7 separate regions of the Homo sapiens genome follow, and regions 1, 2, 3, 4, 6 and 7 are each linked to region 5. The links are contacts of gene promoters, found by promoter capture Hi-C in human tissues and cell types (Jung and others, 2019). All regions are on one chromosome and are shown on one strand. Each heading gives the region's core, a stretch centred on a gene start or on the middle of the fragment in contact. The rest is flanking DNA. Distances are from core to core; before and after follow the strand shown. Region 1 has its middle 83 kb from the start of LINC02498. Region 2 has its middle 180 kb from the start of MIR12113. Region 3 overlaps CLNK (cytokine dependent hematopoietic cell linker). Region 4 has its middle 110 kb from the start of LINC02498. Region 5 holds the start of HS3ST1 (heparan sulfate-glucosamine 3-sulfotransferase 1). Region 6 overlaps LINC02498 (long intergenic non-protein coding RNA 2498). Region 7 overlaps LINC02498 (long intergenic non-protein coding RNA 2498).

Region 1 (2,892 bases), core at 103-2,602, 610 kb after region 5:
ACAGGCAATGAAGCAGCTGCCACTGGCCAAATATAGGGCCATTTGAACATCAAAAAGAATAATAAATGCAATCAGTTGAAACACATTTAATATTGAAAAACCAATAGATTTCATAATAAGAGAGAGGAAAAGAAGGGGTAGGGAGACTGAGACAGAAAGACAGAAATAGAGAGAAAGAGACAGATCCTTATAGAGACCGTTGGAAGTAACTGGACATTTGGGCTACCAACTTATTTCCCCGAAAATCAACAGTTGAAGGAAAATAATGTCTATCTTGCATTTCCTGTACACACTGTAGAGCACAGAAACCGAATATGCCTAGAAGATAAAAATAATTTCTTATTTACACAATAATTCAGCTCATGAATTAGGAAGAAATCAGAAAGTTCTTCTTTTAATTGCCAGCTGAAATCCTTAGCTCAGGTAATGACTATCTATGCATAAAAAATTTGTGAAAAGTTACCTTATTATTGAAAAGACAATATAATGGTAAAATTGAGCATTCTACCCAAACCCACCGATCATTTTAGTGCCGACTACAGTGGGACAACAACACATTGTGTATTTCCTGGCATGATGCAAAATAAGCCATAGTATGAAGTGTTACTGTGCAAAATATTAAAATTGAGTCTAACCAAGCTTAAAATGGCAACTTCCATGCACGGAAAATACAGGGGTATATAAGAATACATTAAATGAAACCACCACGAAGCAAACAGATGCAGCCATAATATGGGATTATCTACAGAAAATTGAAGCCAGTATCTGCAACAATATTATGACCAAAAGAAAAAATAAAACTGATGGCCTGTATTACCTTAACAATGTGTTAATGTGTTATTGGTTCAGAATTAGGCAAAAAGAGAAATAGAACAGAATAGAGAATCTAGAACTCATTACAAAGCAAGAGCTGTATGTCTAAATCAGCAGAAGAAGTTGTAAATTATCCAATAAATGTTTTGTGACAGTGATATAAATATCAGAGAATAATGATAATAAAGTTGCCTCTACATCATAAAAATATAATTACAGATGCAAGTACATAAGTATAGAAAATGCTATTATAGGCCGAGGCAGGCTGATCACCTGGGGTCAGGAGTTCGAGACCAGCATGACCAACATGTTGAAACCCCGTCTCTACTAAAAATACAAAAATTAGCCGGGCATGGTGACGTGCACCTGTAATCCCAGCTATTCAGAAGGCCGAAGCAGGAGAACCACTTGAACCCTGGAGGCAGAGGTTGCAGTGAGCTGAGATTGCACCATTGCACACCAGCCTGAGCAACAAGAGCGAAACTCCATCTCAAAAAAAGAAAAGAAAAGAAAAAGAAAAGAAAAAGAAAATGCTATTATAATGTCATAAAAATTTTTAAAAAATTTTAAATCTTGGAATAGAAGATCTTCCTCTTTAAAACACTAAAAGCAGGATCCATAAATAGAAATTTTGATAATTTGAGACAAAAATGTTAAAACTAAGGTATGATTTTTTAAAGTGACAGGCAAATACTTAACTGAAAAAAAAGTCTTCAAGCTACATAATAGAGAAAGCATTAGTTTACAAACTATATAAAGAACTTCTACAAATCAATAAGAAAGAGAGACACAAGAAAACGCTAAAGGAAAGTGGGTAAATGATATGACCAAACATTTTATACAAAAGGAAAAAATGAGAAATTAGCACACAAAGATACTAATTCATCTCTGTAATAATATTAAAATAAAAATAATAAAGATATAACAGTAATAGCAATATAAGTAATAATAAATATATAAAATAAATATAAGATATATAACATAAACATATGTAATTATATGTAAAGATACATAATGTAATATAGATATATAATTTTTTACATCACAAAATAGGAAAAAGTAATTTAAGTTGAACCCTGCCCACTATTGGCAAGTTTGTGGAGAAATGAGTACACTCTCAAATGTGTATTGGGGGTGAACATTTTTCCCCATTTATGATGTTTCTTTTTATGTAGGGAAAGCTCCATTTGCATAACACACCTCTCTCTGCCTCTCAATTATTTGTTTCTATGAGACAAATGATTAAGATGGTTGGGAATTTTGGAAAATAAAACTGAGCAACTCTGTGTAACTTCGCTTCTTTCTTCTCCATATCTCTTGATAGTAGAGAGTTCAAATTCAGCAGACTTTCTGCTTTGGAGTACATGGTATTTTCTGGGCCTGTAGTTGAGAGATCAAGCAGGGAAGGCTTCCCCAATGTGGAGATTTTGGAAGAGAAGTACAGTATATCTAACCCTGAGATTCAGTATAGAAAATTTACTTGCATGCTACTGTCGTCTGAATATTTGTGTCCTTTCAATACTCATGTGTTAAAATCCTAGCCCCTAAAATGATGGTATGAAGGTGATTAGGTCTTGAGGGTGGAGCCCTCTTGTTCAGGGTTAATGCCGTTATAAAAGAGGCCGCTGAGAGCGGCCTTGCTTTTCCCACCATGTGAGGACACAACTAGAAGTTACTGTCTATGAGAAACAAGCCCTCACCAGACACTGAATCTGCTAGCACCTTGATCACAGGCTTTATAGCCTCCAAAACTATGAGTAATACACTTCTGTTGTGTATTTATTTATTTATTTCCTTTTTTTTTATTTTTTTGAGACGGATTCTCCTTCTGTCACCCAGGCTGGAATGCAGTGGCGCCATTTTTGCTCACTGCAACCTCCACCTCCTGGATTCAAGCAATTCTCCTGCTTCAGTCTCCTGAGTAGCTGAGATTACAGGTGCCCACTACCATGCCTGGCTAGTTTTTGTGTTTTTAATAGAGACAGGGTTTCACCATGTTGGCCAGGCTGGTCTTGAACTCCTGACCTCAAGTGATCCGACCACCTCAGCCTCCCAAAGTGCTGGAATTACAAGTGTGAG
Region 2 (3,253 bases), core at 668-3,167, 540 kb before region 5:
TGCCAAGGGAGATAATAAATGAATTTACCGCCCTTCAGCTATCTCTTTTTGACCTTTATCAAACTCCACTTTCTTCTCCTTTGGGGAAGAAAAAATGATTCATATTGTCTCCTTCAACCAAGAAAAAAATCTGAGGAAAGAACAAAAAAAAGGAACCTTTCATCTGATGATAAAACAATAACTGACTGCACTATTAAGTAACCTATACAAACCTTGCGGAAAAAGGGGAGAGAAAAGATATTTTCTCGAGAAATATTCCCAAAGGTTTGATATTAATCAAACCACGTGTGATTCAGAGAAAGAAGAACAAAGGTCTGAGGAAAGATAGGCCATAAGGAGGCCTCACGGGGAGCATCCTGAGAATTTTTAAGTGTTTTAAGAATATATTCTGTTGTATGGTACATCCCATTAATCAGGTCACATGAATGCCTTGTAAATTAACACCAAAATTGTGTTAGCTTTGAGGAAGATAGCCAACCAAAAGCTCCTAGCACTGTTTCCCTACACACACACACACACACACACACACACACACAATGAATAAGCAGCTGCATTTTAATCAAAATAACTAACAGTAAGTACTTTAGAACAGCAAAGGAGCAGCAAAAATCCTGTAAAGCACAGAAACCCAAGACAACTTCTTAGAGGAGAGCACATCTTGCCTCTGCCACTCCATTCCCCAATTCTGGATCAGCCAAAACTAGGAGGAACTCCCTCCTTTTCCTTAAGGGGTAAGCAAGAAGATACCAGCAGCCCCCATAGCCACTGTGGACACTTGCAGTCTTCATCACTGGAGACTGCTGTAGTCCCCACGGGCTCCAAGCCCAGCAAAGGGAGCTCTCCAGAGCCCACAGACAAAGCTACTCCTAGAGAAGTCAACACTGCACCCCACACCCTCCCCATGGCCTGTACTACTACCGCACTGCACCATCTTTGGACTAGAGTCACTGCTAGAGTGTGTCCTGCTCCAGAAGCGAGTGGTAATTGCACTTTCTATTTATGAGACCTTCCACCAATGCAAGATGCCCACCTGGTATCATGCCATCTCTGAACCAAGCTGCTGCTATGCCTAATCCCCTAGGGCCAAGATACTACAGAGCTACTCCATCTTTTTCTCTGGTCTCTGGTGAACCCTGCCTTTAGGGCCAAGCTGAAGTGACACTGTGCTTCCCAGTGACCCAGGTTTCTGGCACACTAGAGCAGTCATGCTTCCTGGTACCACTGCTGACAATGTGCCCCAGCTCCCAGGGATCTACAGGCTTCATTTACCTATGTAGCCACACTTTCTTGGACCAAGCAGAGGTGCCTTACATCTCAGAGAATTGGAGCCTAGGCTAAGCTGTGCCACTCCACTCTCCAGGCATACAGCCACAGTGCCATGCCTACACAGAACTGGACTAGCCCCCTGAGGTCAAGCCATATACATGCCTTGCCTTTCTGGGAAGCAGAGTCATCACTGTTTTTCTCCCCTTCCCTTGGGCCCAAGCCATATCTTGACATTTCTGGGTCCTTCCAGTTGTTTCATCTTGGCTCGCAGAGCAAAGGATACTACTGTGTCCTACCATTCCAGGGTCCACATTTACAACTTTGTGGTAGCTCATTCCCTGGATCCCAAGTGGTATTGTTTGTTCTTGTTCTCCAATTGCAGCTGTGCATTGCTCTCTGAGGCCCCAGCCTCTAAAACACCTCTTCTTCTTCAAAGCCAATGCCAGTGTTGTGGCCTTCCTGCCAGGGACAGAACCACAGCTACGTTATAACTCCCTAGGCCCAAGCTACTGGGATATGCCTCAGAGGAATAAATCTTGGCTTACTGGAAAAACAGCATCCACCCTGGGCTTAGTTAGTGAACCTGTGCCTCATGTTCCAGGTGTTATAGGAGTTTCACAAGACCCTGAGACCAGGAAACTGGCACCACAGCTTCTCTGAACACCTGAGCCCTGGATCCCATTGTCTCTGTAGCTGATTGTGGGCCATGCCAACCCCAAACCCAAGAAAAATACCTTCAACTATGAGTTCGAGTTATCAACCTTGAAAAAAGATTAGACGAATTGCTAACTAGAATAACCAGTTTACAGGAGAACATAAATGACCTGATGGAGCCGAAAAACACAGCATAAGAACTTTGTGAAGTATACACAAGTATCAATAGCCGAATCAATCAAGTGGAAGAAATGGTATCAGATATTGAAGAACAACTCAATGAAATAAAGTGAGAAGATAAGATTAGAGAGAAAAGAGTGAAAAGAAACAAACAAAGCCTCCAACAAATATGGGACTATGTGAAAAGACCAAATCTACATTTGATTGGTGTACCTGAAAGTGACAGGGAGAATGGAACCAAGGTGGAAAACACTCTTCAGGATATTATCCAGGAGAACTTCCCCAACCTAGCAAGGTAGGCCAGCATTCAAATTCAGGAAATACAGAGAACACTACAAAGATACTCCTCGAGAAGAGCAACACCAAGACTGATAATTGTCACATTCACCAAGGGTGAAATGTAGGAAAAAATGTTAAGGGCAGCCAGAGAGAAAGGTCAGGTTACCCAAAAAGGGAAGCCCATCAGACTAACAGTGGTTCTCTCGGCAGAAACCCTACAAGCCAGAAGAGAGTGGGGGCTAATATTCAACTTTCTTAAAGAAAAGAATGTTCAACCCAGGATTTCATATCCAGCCAAACTAAGCTTCACAAGTGAAGGAGAAACAAAATCCTTTACAGACAAGCAAATGCTGAGGGATTCTGTCACCACCAGGCCTGCCTTACAAGAATGCCTGAAGGAAGCACTAAACATGGAAAAGAATAACTGGGACCAGCCACTACAAAAACATACAAAATTGTAAAGACCATCAACACTATGAAGAAACTGCATCAACTAATGGGCAAAATAACCAGCTAGCATCAAAATAACAGGATCAAATTCACACTTTACAATATTAACCTTAAATGTAAATGTGCTAAATGTCTCAATTAAAAGACACAGACTGGCAAATTGGATAGATTTGGTCTTTTCACATAGTCCCATATTTCTTGGAGGCTTTGTTTGTTTCTTTTCACTCTTTTTTCTCTAATCTTATCTTCACACTTTATTTCATTGAGTTGTTCTTCAAAGAGTCAAGACCCATCGGTGTGCTGTATTCGGGAGAACCATCTCACATGCAAAGACACACATAGTCTCAAAACAAAGGGATGGAGGAATATTTACCAAGCAAATGGAAAGCAAAAAAAATCAGGGGTTGCAATTCTAGTCTCTGGT
Region 3 (3,124 bases), core at 199-2,698, 890 kb after region 5:
AACTTTTCTACTACGAATCCATTGTAATTTTAATACCGTGGTCCATGCACCAAATAAAATCATCCTGAGTAACAGCAAGAGTAATCAACAACATTTTCTGAGTCGTAACTACACACCAGGCCCGGTTTGGGATCTTATATGTATTAATTCATTTAGTCACACAACAGCACTGTAAAAAAATTACTATCTCCAATTTACTGATAAAAATTAAGAAATCGAGGGTTCATTGTCCCATATGTCCTTTAAGCTTCAGTACACTCAATGGCCAAAGGTGCAGGGTTCAGCCAAAATATAATTTAAATGAAGCACCCAATATTTAAGAAACAAAACACCCACTTGCCTAACTATGGCTTTCCATTTTTTCTTTCTTTCTTTCTTTCTTTCTTTCTTTCTTTCTTTCTTTCTTTCTTTCTCTTTCTTTCTTTCTTTTTTTTAAGTAGAGACAGGGGTCTCTCTAACACTCCTGTCCAGGCTGGTCTCAAACTCCTGGCCTCAGGCAGTCCGCCCGCCTTATCCTCTCAAAGTGCTGGATTTACAGGTGTGAAGCAACACGGCCAGCCAGTTTTCTCTTTACAACCAGCAATGCTGGCATCACATCAATTCAAACAATCTCTGTCGCAAAAATGTATGCTCTGATGATTTGGGAAGTGAAAACAAAAAGTCTTTATAGATATCGAGAAACCGTGGTCTTTTAAAAGAGAAAGTATGGTTATAGAGATATACACATTTGTATTTATGAATGGAAAGTATTGATTTTAAAGTATAAACATCATTATTATTGTTTTCCAAGTTGTTGCTATTGGGGGAAACTGGGTATAGGGCACATAGGAACTGTCTGTATTATTTCTTACAACTGCATGGGAATCCATAATTCTATCTAAGGATAAAAAATCCATAATTTTATCTCAGGATAAAAAGTTTAATTTCAAAGCAAATGTGAACATTAAAATGTTCTGCAAATGTAGAGTGTTATTTCACTCCAAATAGCTTTCACGTCACATTCTTTCATTAGAATCTTCAGCAATTCTCTTCACTACTGTCTAGATTTATCAGTTTTACAGGTGGGAAAACTAAGCTTCAGAGAGAGAATTTAACTTATCCAGGGTGACAGAGCCCACAGATGACAGAGCAAGAATCAAATTCAATTCATTTAAAACTAAGCCAAAAACTAAGGCATTCCTGGAGAGACCTATATTTATAGTAAAAGGTAATATCTTTACATTTATAATGAGGACCTCTTATGCATAGGAAAAAATGTGAAAAAAATTAATGACCATGGTTTTTTTCGCCATCTTCAGCAGACAGAACTTGGACACACATGTGTTCAAAGCTCTCAAAGAGTAAGAAACTCTGGTCTACACAGAAATGCCTTCTTACAATCACTTGGGTTCTCAGTGAAAATTCCATTGATTAAAGCTGCAAATTCCAAACCCGAGCTTTCCTGAAGCCTCAGATTTCCATCTATAAAGTGCACTGCTCTATTTATAAATCAGGTGATTTTATCCAAACAGAAAGACAATCACTCTGCTTAGTCTTCAACAAATGTTCAACCAACTCAAGTCAAATAGGTTAAAGAATCTTAGTAAAACTGTTTAACAAACTCATTTAAATCTCCTTAAATATTTGAAATATATTTATAAATTTAATTTCTTTGATTTTTAAGTACTTCTAATGTTGACAGGGTAGGTTTAAATGCTAGCCAGCAAAACTTTAACAATTTCTGTAAATCCAAGAAAGTAAATGTATAAATATAGAAAATTTTAATTTATCTTAAACACTTCAAACTCTTTAAAATGGAGACAAACACATCTTGACACTTGTAACTTCAAATCTACATTTTAAATTGAAGCCCTACAGCCAATCTTTCAGTATCTTTAATACACTGGCTTCTTAAACATTAAATACTGAGATTAGCCACATTTTAACCCCAAAATAATTAATACTCTGGGTGTTTGTTCTACTTCATTACCTCTATTCAGATCTCTTTTGTCTTCTCAGGTTTCCAACTAAAAGCGGGAGGCAGGGGGTAAGATGTAAGAGGCTAAAACCGTGGAACCTTGGTACAGTTGCCTGTTGCTTGCAGATCCGACACTGGGATCTAGCATCTGAGTACTGTGTGTTTCTGGAATCCTGATATAGCCTGACTCCTAAAACTCTAGATCAATAGCCTTCAACTGTGATCAGTGTTGCACACTTAATACTCCCATATTCTTCAGATCCAGTGTTTTCACTGACAGAACTGGGGAAGTGGAACATATACCCTCACTCCACTCCCTTCATAGTTTCTTCACCAAACTTTGACCACATTCTGACAACGATGCACACTGAATGCCCAACATTGTTTTTTGTTTGTTTGTTTGTTTGTTTTGAAATGGAGTCACGCTCTGTCACCCAGGCTGGAGTGCAGTGGATGATCTCAGCTCACAGCAATCTCTCCACCTCCTGGGCTCAAGCTACTCTCCTGCCTCAGCCTCCCGAGTAGCTGGGACTACAGGCATGTGTCATCACACCCGGCTAATCTTTGTATTTTTAGTAGAGACAGGGTTTCACCATGTTGGCCAGGCTGGTCTGGAACTCCTGAGCTCAAGTGATCAGCCTGCCTCAGCCTCCCAAAGTGCTGGGATCACAGGCATGAGCCACTGCACCAGGCCCCAACTTTGTTACTTTTTATTTCTAGCAATTCTCACATTAACACTCATGAGCACTCTTGTTGCCATTTTGCAGATGAAAAAAAGTGAGGTTTAGAGAAGTTAATTGACTTGCTGATAAAATGAAAAGCTTGAAGTTTAGTCAGAGACCTTTCCAAAATTCATATTATTCAATTCCATGTTGGATTTTTTCTCTACCATTCAATTTTATGTTTTTCTCCTGTCTCAGATCTTCGTTCTTTATCAGCATTCTCTCTTACACTTGCTTTCCTGAGACCCCACTGCACCTGACAGCTTCATATTGAAAACTCTTTATGTTCCCTCAAAGTGAAAAACTAAGAGCTTTAAAACCAAGTTAATAATAGGTCTGACTGTGCCAATGAAACTTGACGTAGGAAATCAAATGTCAGGAGAAATGATGATTTTTTAATTTCTCCCAAAATAAGATGCACGTTTATTCATGTCCTTTCTATCAC
Region 4 (3,194 bases), core at 340-2,839, 580 kb after region 5:
GATGGAGCTGGAAGCCATTATCCTCAGTAAACTAATTCAAGAACAGAAAACCAAATACCGCATATTCTCACTTATAAGTGGGAGCTGAATGATGAGGACACATGAACACATAGTGGGGAACAACACACAATGGGGCCTGTTGGAGGGTGTGGGGGGGAAGGAGGGAGAGCATCAGGAAGAATAGCTAATGGATGCTGGGCTTAATACCTGGGTGATGGGATGATCTGTGCAGCAAACCACCATGGCACACATTTAACTATGTAACAAACCTGAACATCCTGCACATGTACCCCTGAACTTTAAAGTTGGAAATATAAATAAATAAATAAATAAATTCCCTGATGCTGCTGCCACTAGTCCAGGGACCACACTTTGAGAATCACTTTTCTAGAATCAATTATAATTGTTCACTCTCCATGGCTGCAAGTACTTATCTGATCTATAGTGTTGCTTCAGGACTTTATGCTGATTTTCAATCTGACGCTGTTGGCATTTCAACAGTTGTCACTGGTAAATTCAAAGATAGCAGAGGTTACTTAGATAGTCAGAATACTATGAAAGAGGGATCTTCTCTACCTTAGGATGGTTAAAAAAAAAAAAAAGAAAAGAAACACCTCCACCAGACCAGCTCTGTCTTCAAAACTCTGCACAATAGTTTCGTTTCATCATTATCTGATACTACCTACAATGACTTAGTACTCAATGTTAAGTACAAGATACCTATATTTGCTTCCTGGTTGAATAAACCAATTCTGTCTCCTATGATTTAATTTCTGATAATGTAGGAACACACTTATTTCACATCTACCATTCTCTTGCCACTTTAATATATCAGGTTATATATGTATTGGTACAATGAGAATATCCTAAGTAGTACCTTAAGAGAGTACCAGCCAAAATATTAAAAATTCCACTGAGGAATCAAAAAAATCCCTAGTACCTTAGATTCCATATGATTAGTAAAGAGAAATGAAAGAAATACAAGCTCTTGAGGTTTGGCTTGAAAAAATATATTATTTCTATATTCGTTTTACTTGGAGAAAATCTAGTTTAAGACCTCAGTTTCTCAGAGGCATTAACTTAATGCTAGACACGCTCAAACTTCACAAAGCCAATCAAACATTCAAATGTGTTATTAACAATATGACTAGCATATATAAAAATAAAATACAATTACATTTTTAAATGTCAGCAATCGAAAAAAGCGTCAACTATTACAAACTTAAGCTATGATTAGAAAGTACAAGTGCAAGCTTTTCTACAGATGCATATAACTTCCAGCTAACCAGGATCCAATGCCTAGAAGCATTTCATAAGACATGAATGTTGAAAATTATAATACATTTTAACTGCTATAGTTCATTTTAAGTCCCATATGTTAGATCATTTACATAAATATTTTACTATTTAGTTTAGTTTTAGTGCAGAAACCCAAACCTTAAGTAAAATGAAATATTCGTGTACTAAAATTTCTGATTTATTTTATTTTATTGTTGTTTATAGAGACAGCCTGTGTTGCTCTCTTGCCCAGGGTGAGGTGAAGTTCCACCGTCATAGCTCACTGCAGCCTCAAGCTCCTGGACTCAAGTGATCCTCCTGTTTCAGGAGGATCCGTGTTCCATTTTATTAAATAGACTTTTATCCTATTTTTTGTATTAAAAAATACACAATCCCTAGGTTTGGAATAAATGTTTTGAAAATCCTGAGATTAATAAAAGAAGTATTTTGTAAAGAAAAAGATGATACTCTTTTCCTTTTTCAACTTTTAGGTTCACGGGGTACATGTGCAGGTTTGTTACCTGAATAAATCCTGTGTCACTGGGGTTTGGTGTACAAATCATTTCATTACCCAGGTAGTAAGTATAGTACCCAATAGATATATTTTTTTAACCCCCATCCTCCTCCCACCCTCCACTTTCAAGTAGAGCACAGTGTCTATCATTCTAGTCTTTAACTTCATGAGTACTCAACGTTGGGCTACCACTTATAAGTGAGAACATGTGGTATTTGGGTTTTCTGTTCCTGCATTAATTCACACAGGAAAATGGCTTCCAGTTGCATCCATGTTACTGAAAATTCAGGACATGATTTCATCCTTTTGGAATCTCAATAAGATTTGTCTTGTAGTTAATATTACTGTACCAGTGTCAATTTCCTGGTTTGGGTAATTGTGTTAGTCAACTTGGGCTGCTATAACAAATACCTTACAATGGGTAATATAAACAATAGAAATTTATTGCTCACAGTTCTGGAGGCTGGGAAGTCCAAGATCAAGGTGCCAGCAGATTCAGTGTCTGGTGAGGGCCTGTTTCTCATAAATGATGTCTCCTGTGCCTGTGCGTGGTGGAAGAGGCCAGGCAACTCCCTTAAACCTCTTTTCTAAGGCCACTAATGTCATTCATGAAGGTGGATCCTTCATGAGTTAATCACTTCCCTAAAGGCCCTGCCTCTTAATACTGTAACAGTATTAGTGTGTGTGCATAAGTGTGTGTATATATATGTGTGTGTGTATATATATGTGTGTGTGTATATATGTGTGTGTATATATATGTGTGTGTGTATGTATACACACACACATATATATATACACACATGTTTTGGAAGGGAGAGGGCACCAACATTCAGACAGTATCAACAATGTATCATGTATTTTAGAATATTGGCATTTGGGAGAAGCTTGGTGAAAAGTACACAGGAACTCTGTCCCATTTTTGTAACTACTAGTGAGACAAACTATTTCAAAATTAAAAGTTATAATTAAAAATTAAGGTCTGAACAATAGAGAAATCAATCTCAGTAAAACAACTCATCCTGGAGAGAAGCGTTTGGTCCATTTATTGTAGACAGAAGAGAAACCACTGGTTGCTTTTAGGATGGTTTTTAGGATGAGCACTCTTAAGAGCTCAGAGACTTCAGTGATGATACTTCAAAGGCTTATTCTTATATTGATGCAGACAATTTCATAGAGAGTCTGCCATACTCAGTGAAGGAAAATACAGGGGTATAGGTACTTGATTCAAGGGTGGTTTTAAATATACTAGAAAAATGCAGAGGTGACTGAGCTTTATTTGGACACTCATTTATTTGGATGCTCTGGATGCTTTAGCAGCCCTACAATTTTCCAAACCTGTAGATAAAGATCTTCCCTTTCTCAAAAGTATGAGTATTTTGATCTTCCCATGGGGAACCTTATA
Region 5 (3,295 bases), core at 312-2,811:
AGACTTCCATTTGACCCTCACAACCTCACACATGATTTTACACAGCTTCCTATAATGGGGGAGAAAAGCCCTTCTTTTAAATCTAATGTTAGTTTAAATGCTAAGGCTTTCAAAGTGGGCCTTTAAAGTCACTTTTTAGAATTTGTATTTTTTTTTAACCTAAAATAGACATGCCAACATTATTCTGACTAAAAGAAGTAGACAAGGTCATTCAACTCCTAAAAGCTTATTTTCCAAAAGCACAGTTAGGTCTCAGCTTTCAGGGTGCTTCTGGCTGTATCAAAAAGACAGAATATACTGGTCACTGTGTTGTTTTCTGAAAGTGCCGAGGGTAATCTGTGTATGAGTTAAAGGGCCAATTTCCTATAGGAACCTTCTCTTAGATGGGATTTTTTTTTAATTAAACAATGTTGGTGAAATATATTTAAACGTAAATCACAAATTCGAAGTCTTCCAAATATTTATTTACTAATGTGGAAGACATGGAAACTACAGTAATCTCATTTAAAGGAAGTTACTTTGATGTGCATTTGCTTTTGGCGGGGTATGATTGCTGACCTGCCTTTGAGGGCAACTTCCTTTGGCTCAGGTAAGCAGGCAAACCCGTTTCTCCAAGGCGATTCCAACCCCACGCCCCTCAAAACCTTAAATCTTAAATTGAGTTATTGGGTGCAGGTCCTTTCTCCCACAGAACCTCCCAGCTTCCGGAATAGAGGAGCGGGGCAGAAATATCCTGCTTTTTATTTCAGAGCTGACGTTTGCAATCCTAGTGCACTAGCGGAAAAAAAAAAAAAAAAAAAAAAAAAAAAAAGCTGAATTTTCCGCGCTCTCCTGGCAAATTGGCGTCCGCTCTCCGACGCTAAACCAAAGGAAAAGGAGTGTTCAATGGCGACAGGGCGCTCTTTGAAGCCGGCTCCTCACGCGGATTCTGGCCCAGGCCGCCGCTCCGGTCCCAGTCCGGCTGCAGAGCGAATTGGAGAGGATGGCACCTCCTGCTTCCCGGGGGGCGGAAGGAGCGCCAGCGCCTAAGGTGGGTCACCTGCCAGGAAGGGAATACGCATGGTGCAGACTCACGTGGGAGGAGCACAGGTCCCGGGTACAAGTGCCGAGCTGGCGACTTAGAGAAGAGGTAGACTCGGGCTCAGACCAAGCAGGCGTAAGGGAGTAGACGGGACGTCCCGTGTTTGCAGTGACGGCGGAGTCACCCATCCCAGCAGCCTCACCTTCTTGGAGCGCTGGTCCCTCCCCTTGGACTGAAACCCCAGGGGCCACCGCACCGGGTGGGCGGGACCGACTACTACCCGACCAGCCGCTGGAGCTGCGTGCCAGGCGGGGCTGTGCGGAGCAGCTGAGCGCAGAGCGGAGCACCAGGCACCTAGCGGGCCGGACTCTGGGCGGCACCCGAGCGGGCCGGGCAGCAGTGGGCGCTCGCGATCCTCCTCTGCCCAACGCGCTCTCCCTCCGGGCCCGGCCTCCTCCGTCCCCTCCTTTTGCTCCCGCTCCTCCTCCCGCTCCTCCCCCTCCTCGGGATTGAGCACCAAAACGCCCGCCTGCAAGGTCCTCTGCGCCCTGGCAGCCAGGAGTCGCCGCCACGACAGCCGGGTCTCAGTGGGTGCCTGCGCCTTCTCCCCGCCCGCCTGCCCCGGGCCATCCAGAAACTTGCTCTACCCGCCGCGGGTGCTCGGCAGTGCTGCCCATGGCCCAGCCTAGGAGCCTATTTAGGGCGCCGGACGGGCTGGACAGAGGCGCGGCTCAGGTGAGTGCGGCGCGCGCGGGGTGGGAGAGTGGCAGGACGCAGGTGTAGAGGGCTCCGAGGTGCCTTTGTCTGGCGTTCTGGACTTCGGGCAAGTGCAGAACCTAAGAAGAATCGAGGCTGGAGCAGGTGGAGTGGATGCAGAGGGAACCAGGAAGCAAAGGCTGGGGATTTTCCCATCCTCCTCACCTCCTGCCCTAGCACCTCTGCTCTGGAAGTCCCGAGGGACCGGTTGATCTGTAAGGACAGGGACCCAGATTTCTGACTCTTACTGGGTTGGATGTTTTCCCCCCCTGCAGAGTCGTGAGGTTCGCTCCTGCCGGCCGCTTCGCGACCGCAGCTTCACCATAGGACCCTGTAGGGCAGCGAGAGCGCAGCACTCAACGGATCCTGGGTACCACCTGGGGCCAGAAACTGGGGCGAGGACACAGCCCGCAAAAGTAACTCGGCTGAGGGAGCCTTTGGGGGTGGAGAAGCCTTGGTCGGGTTTGCCTTTGCATTTGGTTGGAGATAGGCATCTCCCAAAGAGAGAGATTGAGGTGACAGCCCTGACAATAAACCTCTCATCCCTAATGCCAATTACATGAGGGTCTTGATTTTTTTCTTGTTACTTTTTACTGATTTTTTTCCCCCTTCGTGGTTTTCTATTTCCGGGCCCTTGGGTAGTGGCAGCGGATGGAGGTGAGGGATGGCGGGGTGCGAACCCGCGGTTGGAACGCCTAGACCCCAGCTCCCAGGAAGGGTCTTATTCGCGGAGCTTGACCTCTCCAGGTGCGCTCTACCAGCCAGGGGGCGGACGGCGCGCTGCTCCTCCTTCTAGCCCCAGCCTGTCCCAGGAAGCGGAGGACAGACCCAGAACGTAGGCGGATGATGGGAAGAAGAAGCTGGAGCCAAAGCCGGGTGCCGGCGCGGGATGGGGTGTGCTGGGCTCTGCAGTTATAGGTCTATAACTCTGCAGTTATAGGCGCTATAGGTCTTCCATCTCTTTCCCTCCCCTGGGAGCCAGCGATTCCTCGCACACTCAGGGCGCTCTCTTGGGCCAAGGGTTGCATCCTCCCTCTTCCTCCTCCTTTGCAGATCCAGTGGTACCCTTGCCTCGCCTTGCGCGAGTCTCGCTCCTCCCTTTCCCACAATGTTATCATGAGCTATTTTTATCTACAACTTGTGCCAAGATGCTTTTGGGGGGATTCTAGGGAGGCCACTCCAAATCCACTGTCTTTGCGCTGCGCTCCGAGAAACAGTCTCCTGTTAGCATGGAGCAGCCTCAAGGAGTGGCGGGGAGGGTGGCCGAGAACGGAAGGAGCCAGTCCGCCCTCTTCTCCTCCCTCAGCCCTAGCCCCGGAGGGAAACCCCGCCACCACCAGCTCGGCTGCGCCTCCCGCCAGTAGCCCCGGAAGAGGGTCCCCAGACGAGTCCCCACGCTCCCGCTTTCAGGCGCTGGGTGCTTGGACACTGCTGAGGCAGCAGCCTGGCACAGGCAGGATCCTTCATTCCCACCCGTGCGTTCTCGCTTTGCAGGCAAATCTCATTTTATTTTGTTGA
Region 6 (2,865 bases), core at 343-2,842, 660 kb after region 5:
TACCCATTTATTGAACAGTCTATGTAACATCACAATATCAGATGAAGTTTGCCCAAACCTAGGTAAGTTTCAATTGTTAAGAAGTTCAGCCCTGAGCTGAACACAATTTTAATTAAGAAAACTAAAAAGTACTTCATTCAAAGTGAGTTCCAGTTCAGCATCCAATTTCTCCCTTTTTAAGAATTTTAATGAAGTTTCCCAAGTGTCAGTGTCTCTTCTCTCTGAAGGTGACTTTCACGTCAATTTATCCCTAGTCACCTTGCAACATCAGTGGATGCTTTTCCTCCCTATGTCCCTAAGTTACATTTTGAACTTGGAGAGGAGAAATCTGACTATTCATTGGCACATTTCTTGTACGTCATCACACATACAGTTTCTGGTTCTATGATGAAATAACCCAGTCTTATAAATCTGTCAAGAGAATGAGTTAGATTTTTTTAAGAGTAGATGATACTTTGTTCAAATAAATCTGATTCATGGAGAGTTTTAATGCTCCTTTTGAAAATATTTTTAAAAGCATTTTTTGGTAACAGCCCCACCCTCATGAGAGGCTGAAGAACATACTTGAAACACAAGACATAATCAAATAAGGGCACAGGAGCAATATAGAAGTGAGTTTAAATCCCAGCCCTTTAATTGAATCAAATCCAATATCAGGGAGGAGATTACGTTTCTCTAGTGTTTCAAGGGCTGGCCTATGACCTGAGTCAGTGTGTCATTGCTGGGACAGGACAACGGCATGGGGACTCTGAACCACCCTCTGTCTATATTCTTGGGCAAGCCATTGACCTCTTTGAGCTACTCATTCTTTGCATTTCTGAACCCCAAAAAACAATGTCTATTAAGAACGTGAAATGAGCCCTTTAAATGTCAGCACCCATCCTTCCCAAAACAGAGCAGATCAAAACAAAACACTTTTCATTCTGCACCTGGTCTTCAGGCTATAAACGACTATTTCCCCCAGCTCTGGCCCCTTCGTTGGTAACACTGAGTACACAAGCAAATGTGCTTTGGCAAGACAGGATGTTTTTTCAGCTGAAATGGTAGTGGTTCAATTAGCTTAGCAGTTTGCAGAGAAGATTCATTCAAAACACTGAAAAGCAAACATTGGAAAAATGGAAAGTTATTTCCCAGCTTGCTCTGGAGGTATTTTAAACTCTGAAGATCAACAGAAAAAGAGCTATAAGAAAGTGTCTTGGTCCAACAGAGGTAGAAGTAGCCTCAGACTGAATGAATTCATGTAGAAGTGAGGGCATCTCCCATATTGATTTTGTGTTGTGTGTTCTTATTTACCAAGATTCAAGGTTGTGGGTATTGAGTGTTCCCTCATTATTGCCTGTTGTTCCACTTATTACTCACCTAATTCTTCCTTTCTTTATAATCAATTGTTTATTCTAGCTTTTCCCTCTTTACTAGACCATGATCCAACTGAAGGCATAAATCTTTCTCAGATCCCAAGATAATGAAGAGCACATTAGTAGGTACTTAGAAGAAAGCAGGAATTCAAAGCTTATGGACGAGTCAAGGGCTGACCAACAAACTCAGCCATTGTGGTGTGGCTGGGCTGGAGTCACAAAACTCTGGGTTTTAGTCCTCATTTTAAGACACTGAAAAGTCACTGGTTATCCCTGAACCTCTGTTTTTAACCTAGGAAAAGAGAATTATGTCTCCTAGCTCAGAAGTTACTTTCAGAATTGAAGTGAAGTACAGCATGTTTAAGAGTTGGACACTTGATTATTGCTGGTTTTCCTTCTTCTCTGATAATCAGGCAGTAGGCATGGGCATCAAAGGAAGTCAAGGAGAAAAAGATAAAAATTCAAAGAGATGTCTACTAAACATGCACTATGTCCGGGTCCTTTTGTGCACATTGTCTTCACTTCTTAGTGGTGGTCTGTTGGTCTTTCTAATATTTGACACCACTGATCTCTCTTTTCTTGAAATATCTTTTCTCTGTTGGTCTTGCTGGCTTCAGTTTTTCTGTTCTAAAACCTGCTCTTCCAGGTTACAGCTGGAGTGAGGCAAGCTAGGTGCCTGGGGCCGACTCTTGGGTTCATGCAGGGCTGACCTTGTGCCTGTATGAACCCAAGAGTGAGTGCCTCATTAAACATTCTGTCCTGTGTGCTTCCCTGCCTCACCTTGGTGCCTGTCCTTTGCCCTGTCTCTTCATTCTTATATTTGATATCTAGGGCTGCCTTAAAAATTACCACAAACTGGATGAATTCCAACAACAACAAAAAATGTATTCTGTCACAGCTCCAGAGGTCAGAAGTCTAAGATTAAGGTGTTGCAGGGCCTCACTTAAGGGTCTCCAAAGGCTCTAAAGAAGACTCTGTTTCTTGCTTCTTCCAGCTTCTGGTACTATTGGTGTTTGTTGGGGTATTTTTGTTTTGGTTTGGTTTGGTTTCTTTTTTTTTTTTTTCTGAAGACAAAGTTTTGCTCTTGTCGCCCAGGGTGGAGTGCAATGGTGGAATCTTGGCTCACTGCAACCTCTGCCTCCCGGGTTCAAGCAATTCTCCTGCCTCAGTCTCCTGAGTAGCTGGGATTACAGGCACCCACCACCATGCCTAGCTAATTTTGTATTTTTAGTAGCGATGGGGTTCCACCACATTGGCCAGGCTGGTCTCGAACTCCTGACCTCCGATGATCCGTCTGCCTTGGCCTCCCAAAGTGCTGGGATTACAGGCATGAGCCACCAGACCTGGCGTTCCTTAACTATGGTTACATCACTTCAATCACTGCCTCTGTCTTCACATCATCTTCTCCTGTTTGTCTGTCCATCTCTCCTCTTTTATCTCTTATAAAAAGCATTTGCCATTGGCTTTAGTGCTCACCTGAATAATCCAGATGACCTTACCTTGAGAATGT
Region 7 (3,283 bases), core at 709-3,208, 630 kb after region 5:
TATTCAGAGGTTCTGAGCGGACATAGAACTATTCAGTCTGCTATACATGGTAAAACAAATGGTGTAGGAGGAAGAGGGGTAGAGCCAGAGTTGGATTGGGACCCATAAGTTAAGAGCAAGATGGAATAAAAGGCATGATTCTAGTCATCATGGAAAATAGAACTATGTGGGCTTTTATCATCTGATCCCAGCCAGTCTGCCCATCCTTAGCACAGAAAAACATTTATTCTGGTCGCACCAAACTACTCACTTCTCCTAGAATATGTGGTAATCTCTTAAACTTGTAAAAAAATTAGAATATATTTGTCTTCTTAGTCTCCACTGAGATCCCAAAATGTCCCAGGTTTGGGACAATGGGGATAAATTGCACCTGTATTTTACAGAAAAGGACTAAGTCCATTTCTGCTAGACTTGCTAAGAGATAGGCAAAGCAAGTCCTGAGACCTTTAGCCCAAAACTCTCCACCAACCTCTATGTCTACCAGCAAAACTGGAGATTCATTGATATAGTTAGGTTTTATGTCCCCACCCAAATCTCATCTTGAATTGTACTCTCCATAATCCCAGGGAGACATCAGGTGGAAGTCATTGAATTATGGGGGCAGTTTCCCTCATGCTGTTCTCATGATAGTGAGTGAATTCTCAAGAGATCTGATGGTTTTATAAGGGGTTCTTCCACCTTCGCTCAGTACTTCTCCTTCCTGCCACTTTGTGAAGAAGATGCCCTTTGCCTTCCACCATGATTGTGAGTTTCCTGAGGCCTTCCCAGTCATGCTGAATTGTCAGTCAATTTAACCTTTTTCCTTTATAAATTACCTAGTCTCAGTCAATTCTTTATAGCAGCATGAAAATGGACTAATACATTCATTAAGCAGATTGACTGGTAAGTTTTTCAAGAAAGTAGTCAGTCTAGAAGGATGGGGAAAGGCATTTTTCTCCTCTCCCTGTGAGGATGGGAGGAAGAATGTGAAGGAAGTCTATGTCCCAGTTCTTACATGTGGCTCGACAGGGCACACTGAGAGAGATTTCTGATAAATTGACTTGTGCCTTGAAGACTTGAAGGGAATGGTACTGGCTACTTGCCTGTAGGGGACAGGCTGGCTGGAACTGGCCCAGCAGCAGCAGAGAAAAGAGAGCTGCACTGGGAACTGCCTCACCAGCATGGCAAGGGGAAGGCTTTCTGTGTGCCTCAGGGTGCTGAGAGCAGCACCCAGACTAGGGTGGTCAAAAAAAGATCTATTTTCAAGAGGCCTATCTGCAGGAGAAAGCAGATACCAGCAGAAAGTGGCTAGAGGCATCCCACCAGAAGTAGGAATTGAGGCAAAGTCATAAGACATCAGTAGGATTAAGCATAGTCCTTCTCAGGAAATACTGAAGAATGAGGAATCCCAGACATTGTGAGGTAACAAACCCCTAAAACACACAGAAGGGAAGGGTCAGTACTAAGGGTATTTAACAGGTGTGTGTGGAGGGTAGGAACTACAACTGTGCTGGCTACCTAAAACTGTACCATGTTTTTCCTTGTTTACCCTCACACATGGTAGAGAAGCCGGAAAAAGATGACCCAACACAGAGAGAGTGAAAGAAAAATCAATAAGGATAAGAGAAGAGGTGATGATGTGCGGATATCTCTCTCTCTTTCTCTCTCTCTCTGTCTCTCTCTCTCTCTCTCTCACACACACACACACACACACACACACACACACACACACACCTCCTTAGCTTAGTTCTCAGTACAATAACCGAGAACAAAGACTTCTTTCTCACTTATGTCTATCCCAGGAGCTCTGCTAATTACACCACAAAAACCCAGGCTGATCAGGCACTACAATTTTGAATACTGGAATAGAAAATGAGAATGTAGCAAAGCATAAACTTATTATTATAGCTCCCACCTAGAAGTTACACACTTTATTGGCTAAAGTAAGTCACATGGCTATAATTAACTTTAAGTAGCTGTCAAAGTCATCTTATCTTCTCTGTCTAGGAAGGAGAACTGGAATGTTTGTGAGCAGCTCAATGGACTACTGAAATGAGTAAGCCCAACAGAAAGAACAGGCTGCACTCTCCCTTTCTCTCTTCTGGCTTCAGAGCCAGTTCAGGCCTAAGGTAAGGAAGAAGAAAAACTTAAAATTGTATGACACATTGGAGTTTCGATTAAAATTGGACTGAACTTTTTAATATCTGAAAATATTTTTTAAATAGCTTCTGCTATTCTAGATTATTCTTCAGCATTTTACTCCTGTTTCCTCCTTACTATAGGCAGAGACTAAGTCTTTGCCCTTTGATGTTGGTCTTGGACGTGTGACTTGCTTTGGCCACTGGGAATTTGGCAGGCATGATGTGAGCCGGAACTTTTCATAGCCTTGTGTAGTCTGGCTTTTCTCTTGTATGTTGGAGATTGGGCATTGATATAGTAGCTCTGTGTCCCCACCCAAATCTCACCTTGAATTGTAATACACATAATCCCCACGTGTCAAGGGTGGGACCAGGTGGAGGTAATTGAATAATGGGAGAGGTTTCCCCCATGCTGTTCTTGTGATAATGAGTGAGTCTCACAAGATCTGATGGTTTTATAAGCATCTGGCATTTCCCCGGCTTGCACTTCTCCTTCCTGCTGCCTTGTGAAGTCGGTACCTTGCTTCCCCTTCGCCTTCTACCATGATTGTAAATTTCCTGAGACCTCCTCAGCCATGCTGAACTGTGGTCAATTAAACCACTTTCCTTTTTAAATTACCCAGTCTCGGGTATGTCTTTATTAGCAGTGTGAGAATGGACTAATATAGGCATATCTCATGATAGCGGTATTATCACTGTCCCTCAGCATTGAGCAGACTGAGAGCCCATGGCCAAATCCAGCTAATCCATGGCCAGGGAGCTACCCATCCAAGCCTAGTCTAGTCTGGATGAACCACAGTTTCCCTGCAGGCAGTGAGAGTGAGAATAATTGCTTAATGAAGGAAACCACTGAGTTTACAATAATTGAGTTTGTTACGGAAATAGCTGAAGAATACATGCCTAAAATGATTTAAAACCTCCTTGCAAATACAACTTCCATTTTGGAAACGGAGATATTGTTAAGTAGGTAGCTAGTCAGTCATGAGCAGGGCAGAAAAGTTCCCACACCCCCAACCAGGAATGTCAGGTGACTATTAGGTGATGTTCAGGTCGTTGTTACACTGTTTCTCTAAAATAATAATTGGTCACAGTCAGAGCCAGGGAAAGGCAGACCCCCAGTAGACAGAAACATCTGAAACTGGTGATCAGCATCTTCCTGATAAGAT

What was found. Contacts are between HindIII fragments. The study calls those that stand out against the background at their distance.
Region 1: a contact is called between a fragment that was not itself captured here and the fragment with the promoter of HS3ST1 in region 5, in 5 of the 25 tissues and cell types used here (IMR-90 fibroblasts, bladder, mesendoderm cells and 2 more).
Region 2: a fragment that was not itself captured here is called in contact with the fragment with the promoter of HS3ST1 in region 5 in 1 of the 25 tissues and cell types used here (mesendoderm cells).
Region 3: a contact is called between a fragment that was not itself captured here and the fragment with the promoter of HS3ST1 in region 5, in 4 of the 25 tissues and cell types used here (H1 embryonic stem cells, IMR-90 fibroblasts, lymphoblastoid cells and 1 more).
Region 4: a fragment that was not itself captured here is called in contact with the fragment with the promoter of HS3ST1 in region 5 in 4 of the 25 tissues and cell types used here (H1 embryonic stem cells, adrenal gland, mesendoderm cells and 1 more).
Region 6: a fragment that was not itself captured here is called in contact with the fragment with the promoter of HS3ST1 in region 5 in 3 of the 25 tissues and cell types used here (heart right ventricle, hippocampus and lymphoblastoid cells).
Region 7: a contact is called between a fragment that was not itself captured here and the fragment with the promoter of HS3ST1 in region 5, in 2 of the 25 tissues and cell types used here (mesendoderm cells and thymus).

The regions. Positions count from the first base shown.
Region 1 is chr4:10,819,406-10,822,297 of GRCh38, reverse strand. No RefSeq gene overlaps it. Among named protein-coding and RNA genes, the nearest start is that of LINC02498, 83 kb to the right of the region's middle. The HindIII fragment of the contact is 5,436 bases long and covers 1-2,892 here.
Region 2 is chr4:11,963,063-11,966,315 of GRCh38, reverse strand. No RefSeq gene overlaps it. Among named protein-coding and RNA genes, the nearest start is that of MIR12113, 180 kb to the right of the region's middle. The HindIII fragment of the contact is 3,517 bases long and covers 159-3,253 here.
Region 3 is chr4:10,532,503-10,535,626 of GRCh38, reverse strand. All of the region lies in intron 11 of CLNK (cytokine dependent hematopoietic cell linker), which reads left to right. Among named protein-coding and RNA genes, the nearest start is that of ZNF518B, 77 kb to the right of the region's middle. The HindIII fragment of the contact is 4,000 bases long and covers 1-3,124 here.
Region 4 is chr4:10,845,262-10,848,455 of GRCh38, reverse strand. No RefSeq gene overlaps it. Among named protein-coding and RNA genes, the nearest start is that of LINC02498, 110 kb to the right of the region's middle. The HindIII fragment of the contact is 3,496 bases long and covers 1-3,194 here.
Region 5 is chr4:11,427,160-11,430,454 of GRCh38, reverse strand. HS3ST1 (heparan sulfate-glucosamine 3-sulfotransferase 1) reads left to right here and starts at 1,561. Exons shown (of 2, transcript NM_005114.4): 1 at 1,561-1,756. RefSeq lists a silencer at 1,416-1,595 and an enhancer at 1,686-1,905. The HindIII fragment of the contact is 7,575 bases long and covers 1-3,295 here.
Region 6 is chr4:10,771,353-10,774,217 of GRCh38, reverse strand. All of the region lies in intron 3 of LINC02498 (long intergenic non-protein coding RNA 2498), which reads right to left. Among named protein-coding and RNA genes, the nearest start is that of LINC02498, 35 kb to the right of the region's middle. The HindIII fragment of the contact is 5,223 bases long and covers 1-2,865 here.
Region 7 is chr4:10,799,148-10,802,430 of GRCh38, reverse strand. The region is part of intron 3 of LINC02498 (long intergenic non-protein coding RNA 2498); the gene reads right to left. Among named protein-coding and RNA genes, the nearest start is that of LINC02498, 63 kb to the right of the region's middle. The HindIII fragment of the contact is 5,781 bases long and covers 1-3,283 here.